Regions from separate parts of the Homo sapiens genome. Here region 1 is linked to region 2. The links are contacts of gene promoters, found by promoter capture Hi-C in blood cells and fetal thymus (Javierre and others, 2016). All regions are on one chromosome and are shown on one strand. The core of a region is centred on a gene start or on the middle of the fragment in contact, and the rest is flanking DNA. Distances in the headings are between cores, read along the strand shown.

What was found. Contacts are between HindIII fragments. The CHiCAGO score rates a contact against its expected background, and 5 or more counts as called.
Region 1: a fragment that was not itself captured here is called in contact with the fragment with the promoter of GBX2 in region 2 in 4 of 17 cell types (M2 macrophages, M1 macrophages, endothelial precursors and 1 more); the score reaches 8.9 in M2 macrophages.

The regions. Positions count from the first base shown.
Region 1 is chr2:235,935,281-235,938,609 of GRCh38, forward strand. The region is part of intron 12 of AGAP1 (ArfGAP with GTPase domain, ankyrin repeat and PH domain 1); the gene reads left to right. Among named protein-coding and RNA genes, the nearest start is that of GBX2-AS1, 230 kb to the right of the region's middle. The HindIII fragment of the contact is 205 bases long and covers 1,427-1,631 here.
Region 2 is chr2:236,166,852-236,170,182 of GRCh38, forward strand. It overlaps GBX2 (gastrulation brain homeobox 2), which reads right to left and starts at 1,535. Exons shown (of 2, transcript NM_001485.4): 1 at 598-1,535. The coding sequence starts at 1,120. It overlaps GBX2-AS1 (GBX2 and ASB18 antisense RNA 1), which reads left to right and starts at 591. Exons shown (of 2, transcript NR_186035.1): 1 at 591-818. It overlaps LOC124906126 (a long non-coding RNA gene), which reads left to right and starts at 2,175. Exons shown (of 2, transcript XR_007088136.1): 1 at 2,175-2,533; 2 at 2,678-2,945. RefSeq lists an enhancer at 1-666. The HindIII fragment of the contact is 5,712 bases long and covers 1-2,336 here.

The DNA of each region.
Region 1 (3,329 bases), core at 279-2,778, 230 kb before region 2:
CGGAGGATTGGATCCCTCCTCTGCTGAGTACCACATGCTGCTGAGCGTAATTTTTTAAATGCAGAAACATATTCATCTTGAGCCTCTGCATTGAAAAAGGCCGTTCCAGGAGTACATGAAAAATTAATTTTTTTACATTTTTTCCCACTCTTCTAAGTGTTTGACAGAAGTAATTTTTGCAGCAAGAGAGAATAAAAACTGGTGGCTGTAAATTCCTGTCCTGCAACCTCTTGTGTAGATTCTTTATGGACCCAGAATTGATCTACATGTCAGATCCTGTTGTGGTTTAAACTGTTTATCACTGTAATGGCAGTAGTGAGCCCGTGACCACCAACTTATAATCCTGGGTGAAAGAAATTGGTGTTTGCAGTCAATGAAGAGGCAGCTTTGCTTTATTGATAGATTCAGAACAATTATCTCTGCAACAACTATTGGCTGAGGGTTCTCTTGAATCTTATTGGAAGCCTGTAATTTTTTTTGATTAATCATTTCCTCCATAGGTAATTTCCTCTAGAAGCGTTAGCCACGAGTCAGCATCACTGTGGGTAGCAGGGGCCCTGGGGGGTCGTATGTGGCATACTTGGCCGTCCTGTCTTACTTCAAGACAAGATGCACGTTGAGATGCGTCACACCTGTCCTCAGGGCCAGAGTGCTCACCTGCCTGCCTGCCTCCTGAGTACCTGGGTGAGCCTGGCCCGGCCCTCCCCGCTGGCTCCTGCCTGGGCCAGCCTCGTCGGGTGGTCTCAGCTAATGCTGTTGCCATGGCAGCCTCGCTCCCCCAGCCCTGGACTGTCAGGTTCTTCTGATAGCTCCACCCCATCCCCGATTGCTTCAGTCCAACAGTTTATCTTCTGCCACGCTGACTGGCCATCACTGTTAATACTGCATTTCTTCACGTGACTCTTCCATGTGGCTCTTGAGCCTCACTTCCCTCGGCCTCCCCCAGGCCACCACGCAGCCTCGTCACCATCGAGCACAAACACCATGTCCATCTTCCACATGGAAGGAGTGTATCACATGTGTGTGTGTACGGGTGTATGCTCTGGTCCCTGTTTCCTTCTGGCCACGTAATCATTATATCTTTCCAGTAGACTCTGTGGTTATAAAGCAGCCGATCCTCAATGGAAAGCATTTGAGTTTTTGCCAGCTTTTAAATGTCTTTTCTCATTATAAAAATGTTTTGCACGTCGATTTTGATGATGGGGGTTCGAAACATGAGTTTCAGCTTCGGAAGCTGTCTGTCCCACACTTACTTTCGGAGCCAATGCATTTGAACCACACTTTCCAGCAAGCATGTCCACACCATTCATCAATTTTAATCATTATAGTTGGAGCATTTTTTTTCTCTTCTTGGATATTATACTGACAATTTTAGTGTATGACCAGCAGGCGGCGGTAATGTGATACTGCCGGTCTCTGACCTGGAAGCTTCTTTGATGGGAGGGTATCAGTGAAGCGTGGTGGGGAGGAAATACATGTGTTGACAGCCTCCGCTGTTGTGACCTTCATGCCTAACACTCGTTTCCCTGGGGATCATCATCTCTGATAACTGAGCTTCCAAAAGGCTGAGAAACCAAGACCATACTTATCATTATTAGCCAAAATTCAAACCCAGATCTTTCTGATTTCAAAGCTTGTAATCATTCCCCTCTGCTTTTTTTTTTTTAAGGAGAAACGCATGCTTAGTACTAAAACATTGTATCATAAAAATTGTTTGTCTTTTGATAGCGCTTGCTTTTCAAGGAAATATGTTCTAAGATGGATAGACATTTTGTCTTCTCTCACTGATGCTGAAGTTTCCTTTATCAATTCTTCCCAAATCTTGGCTGGCATTCAAAAGCGTTCCCTGGGGGTTGTCATCAACCTTCAGCTTAGCTCAGTGTTAAAGGCCCCTGGGCTCTCATCTCTCAAAGCTGGGCACTCCCTGCCTCACCGCCGGGAGGGCTGCTCGGCTCGCCAGGCTGGCCGGCCTAATTAAAAGGCTGACCCCGCTCCCTTCTGTGCTCGGAGCCTGCTTTCCTGTCTCTGCATGTGGCCGAGGAGCAGGCAGAAGCGTCCTGGGGTAACTGGACACAGGGGGTGAAAGGTGGATTTTTTTTCCTCCCAATCAGAATGTTGTAACTTTGTACTTTGTCTCCTTAGTTCCTTCCTATCAGCTATTTTCAGCAGTAGCTGCTGACCAGGGGAAACAGAGGACAGTGAAATGCTGCCCCATGATCAAAACCGAACAGGGGCAGCACATTTCATTCCCGAAGACCAGAAATCTTCATGTTGTTGCAAGGCAAAAAAAATCTAGAAATGCTTGTAAACAGGGAGTAGAGAAGGATATTGTTGCTAGTTGCTGTAGTGCCCGGACCAGACCTCTTGGCCCTCTGGCCCTCGGCGTGTCTTCACCTATTCCAGGGGCTCGCAGCCAGGGGTGATTTTGTCTCCTTGGGACAGTTCGTGATGTCCGGAGGCATTTTTGGTTGTCACATAGGGGAGGGTGATGCTACTGGAAGCTAGTGGGTAGAAGCCACCAGGGTGCTGCTGAGTGTGCCACGGGGCAGAGACCAGCCCCCCACAGCCAAGAGTTATTCAGCCCAAAACACCAGCGGTGCCACGGTCAGGAAGCCCCGATCTGGACAATGAAAGTTTCGCTTCCTTGGCCCCTTCCAGCTGCGGTTGCTGCGTTGCACAGTAATTCAGTAAGAATCCTTCCCAAAGAAAGGAAAGCCGGTTTCTGGTTTGCAAGAGGGTCACTGCAGCCAACCCAGAGCAGTGCCTGATCCTCAGGGTGCTTTCCACACAGCTTCTCAGAGCATCCGCCTGGCGGCACGGCCGGTTCAGCGGCAGTCCTGCTGCCACCAGCGTAGATGTGATGTAACATTCATGGAACTCACTGCTTGCCAGGCACAGGCCCCCAGGAGATGAGTGCCAGAGCCTTCCCTGCTTCAGATGAGGAGATGAGTGCCAGAGCCTTACCCGCTTCAGATGAGGAAGCAGGGGCAGAAGGCAGTTGGGCCTATCGCAGCAGCAGGTCGGTGGTCAAGGCTAGATTCAAACAGCCTGTGTCATAATTGTCACTAAGCTGTTCTCCTGCCCACCCGACCGCCTCCAAGAACGCTGGGTGCGCAGCGTGTCCCCCTGCTGCGCGTATGAAGACAGGGAGGGTGAGGCCATCAGATGTGTGGATGCCACAAGCTGAGACATAATCTACATTGAAATCTCCAGATTTAGAGACTACAAAATGGGTTGAAACTAACAAATTGAAACAGAGATAAAATCTTGAATTCAGGCTCAACAAACCAACAGTACAGATAATGGAACAGGAGTACCGGACCTGGTGG
Region 2 (3,331 bases), core at 285-2,784:
TAGTGAACCTCAATTGCTTCCTAACCGGAGTGGAGGCGTAGGGACGTGCAGATCCCAGACCATCTTTTTTGAGACAGACAACGTTGGTCAAAGGGATGTTTTGTGGCCTTATAAGTTCCCACCAGACACCCCCAACACAAACACACAGGCACAGCCTCCCAGCAGTCCGTTTCTCCCAGACAAGTAGCAAGACCAGCGAAGGGGTTTAAAAAGTCTGGGCGCCCCTGGGCACACGCACGGCTGAGACGCGCAGCCCAACCCGTCTCCCCTAGAGGCTGCAACCTACCCGGAACCCCAGGTCACCGCGGAGCGGCAGAGGCGGCCTCGGCCAAACGCATCGTCAGATAGATATGTGGCCCAGGGCAGCAGCTGGTCGCCGGGCGCTAAACGCCCCCCCTCCCGAGACCCCGCTTGTTGGGTGGCTCTGAATGTCCCCCGGAGGCCCAGCGGCACAGCCGGGCCTCATCCTCCAGCTCCTCCCGCGGGGGTCGAGCGGGGGCGCGGCCTCGCCCCCTTGGTCTCCCGCGGGAACCCGGCGCTGGCCCGCCCCCGCCTCCTCCCGCCCCCTCGTCCCGGCTGCGCGCGCCGCCGACTCACCGAGCGAAGCCTGCACCGTCTCGGCCGCGGAGAAGGCGAGCAGCGAGCCCTCTTTGGCCAGGAAGCCTTTGCCGTCCTCCGCGTCAGCCTGCAGCGCCTCCGCCTTGTCGAAGTTACCGCCGCCGGGCAGCGGCTGCGGCGCGAACTTGCGGGCCGCTGCCGCCTCCTGGTGCTGGGGCGACGCGGAGAAGCCGCCGGGGAGCGTGGCCATGAGCGTAGAGGTGAGCGCCATGCCCTGCGCCAGGCTGGAGCAGAAGCCTGTGGGCAGGCTGGGGATCTGGTGGTGAGGGTGTGCGGGCGGCAGCGCTGGCTGCAGCGCGGCCTGGGGCAGCGCGGGCGGCGGCGGCGGCGGCGGCGGCAGCACTACCGGCCGGTAGGGCATGAACATGGGGTAGCCGGTGTAGACGAAATGGCCGGGGCTGGGCTGCGGCGGGCTGCCGATCAGCGAGTCTATGCTGAAGGCGGTGCTACTCCCCAGCGGGCGCTGCATCATCATCAGCGACGGCGGGAACGCTGCGCTCATAGACGCGCTCGGTAGAGGCCAGCGAGAGGCGAAAAGTCCCCGCGCCGCGCCGCCGCCGGGAAGCCCGCCGGACGCCGGGAGCACCGCCGGGAGCGCCGGGCAGGGGCCGAGCGGGACCCGGAGAGCAGACGCCTCCGCCCCTCAGTCCTGGGCCCGCTGCATGCCGGGCGGGTGCAGGGGGTGTGCGGGGTGAGGCCGTGCGCCCCGGAGTGGAGAGGGCGCCCGGGCCCCGAGGGCTCGCCGGAGCCCCCGTCCGCCGCTTGCCCGTCGGAGCCCGCGCGCTTCGCGGGTTTGGCCCTCGGCCCCGGTAAGCTGCCGTCCGTCCGTCCGTCCCGCCGTCCGTCGCCTCCCGCGGGCCGCTGGGGAGCGCGCGAAGCCGGCGTACTTATCTCCGGCGGGCGCAGCCAGCACCTTTAAATCGCGCTCCTCTTTCTCATTCACATTTTGCCTGCCGCCTGGCCCGGCTCGCCTCACGTGGGGCTGGGCGCCTCTGGCCATTGGCTGAGCGGGGCGGGGGTGGGGCGAAAGCGGGGCCCCGCCCTTTCCACCCAAGCTGGCCTCGAGCGGGCTGCGGGCGCCACCGTCGGAGCGCGCGGGCCGGGGAGCCGGAGCCTGCATGCCTAGCCCGTGCCGCGCAAACTTGAGACGGGCGGATGGCACCTCCAAGGCTCGGACCTTGGGGCCCTGCAGCCTTGTCGAGGCCACCTCGAAGGGTAGCCTCCGGGGCCCGCACCCCCACGGCTGGGCCGGGGGCGCTTTATTTCTTTTACTGTATTTGCCATGGAACCAACCTGCCTGCGGCTCACTCCAGCGCTGGGTGCTCCGGCTGCGCCTGGGGTCCGGGCGAGGGTCCTGGAGTTGGGGGCAGGGTCCTGCCCCTCCGGAGCCACCCCCGGGGCGAAGGCTGGGAGCTGGCAGCGCCTGCCCGCCGCCAGAAACCCGCCGGGTTGCTCGCTGTAGGTCCGCGCACCGGGTGGGGCGGGGAGGCTGCTGCTTCCCCCATCCCGGGCTGGGCCCTCCCGTGAGCGATCCCGTCTCTCATTTTTCATGACATTCTTAATCATCGCACCTATTTACACACTTTGCCAGCGCGCACCAAAATAACAACCACGATAATTATGATAATAAAGAGAGTCCTTTATCTGCTCCATCCTCGGGGAGGAAGGGGGGAGTTGCTGTGCCTCCAGATTGTATAACGTGAGATTATCCTGATGAAAGCTTTATGATGTTTGCTCAAATAAAAGCTGCGTTTTGTAAATAGGCGCTAATTAAGCACGTTGCGAACGCAAGGAGTGCTCACCCTGGCGCCGCCGCCCGGTTTCCAGCGCGAGGACTCGAGGGCGCGCGGTTCCTCTTTGCTAACTGCAGGATGGAGCCGATCCCCTCAGGATGTTTCCCCTGTTCTCGACAACGGTAAAGACCCCCAAATTTGAAAGTAAGGGAATTTTGGGGTGGAGGGAAACTAGGGACGTACTTATCCCCTCTTCCATTTTCAAACAAAAAACTTTCAGCTCTTGTCTTCCCTTTAAAAATGGAATCACTTCTTGACAACGGCAGACCGTGCAGAGCGCACCAGCGCGAGCGGGGCTTCCTCGAGTCTCCAAGGCCCGGGCTTCAACTTCCCGGGTCTAGACGTCAGCCCTGAACCGCCAACAGCACCGGGTTGGGGAGAAGGAAAGAAGGGCATTGTTAGTTCGGTCATTAAAAATCAGCTCACGCCGAGGAGCTAGTGGTTGGGGAGTTGGCCCGTGTTGGACGTGTGTTATGTATCACTTACAAGCACATTTAATTGGGAGATAAAGATAAATCGATCTTTATGAATTTATCGACCCGATTCTTTGAAGCTCTTTTTTCGCGTTCTTCCTCTTTCTCTCGCTCTAGCCCCAAGGCCCCCCGGGGGACGTCTTAATCCCAGATCAGCTCCTCTGCCAGGAGTCCCGCCGGAGACCCACTGCCCACCCAGCAGACCTGGAGGAAAGAGGGGAGGGTGTGTCCTTGGCGCCCCGGGACGCTGGGAAAACTCGCTGGTCCGCCGCCAGCCCTCTCCTCCTCCTCGCCTCCTCCCTCCCTACCACCACCCGGACAAAGACGTCTCGATCGCGTTTCCCCACTCCAGGCCGCAGTAATAGATCGCTCCGGCAGCAGGCGGTTTGAAAGGAATTCATTAGGACGCTGCCTGGATTGCCTCCCCTGACTTCACGCCCAGACCCC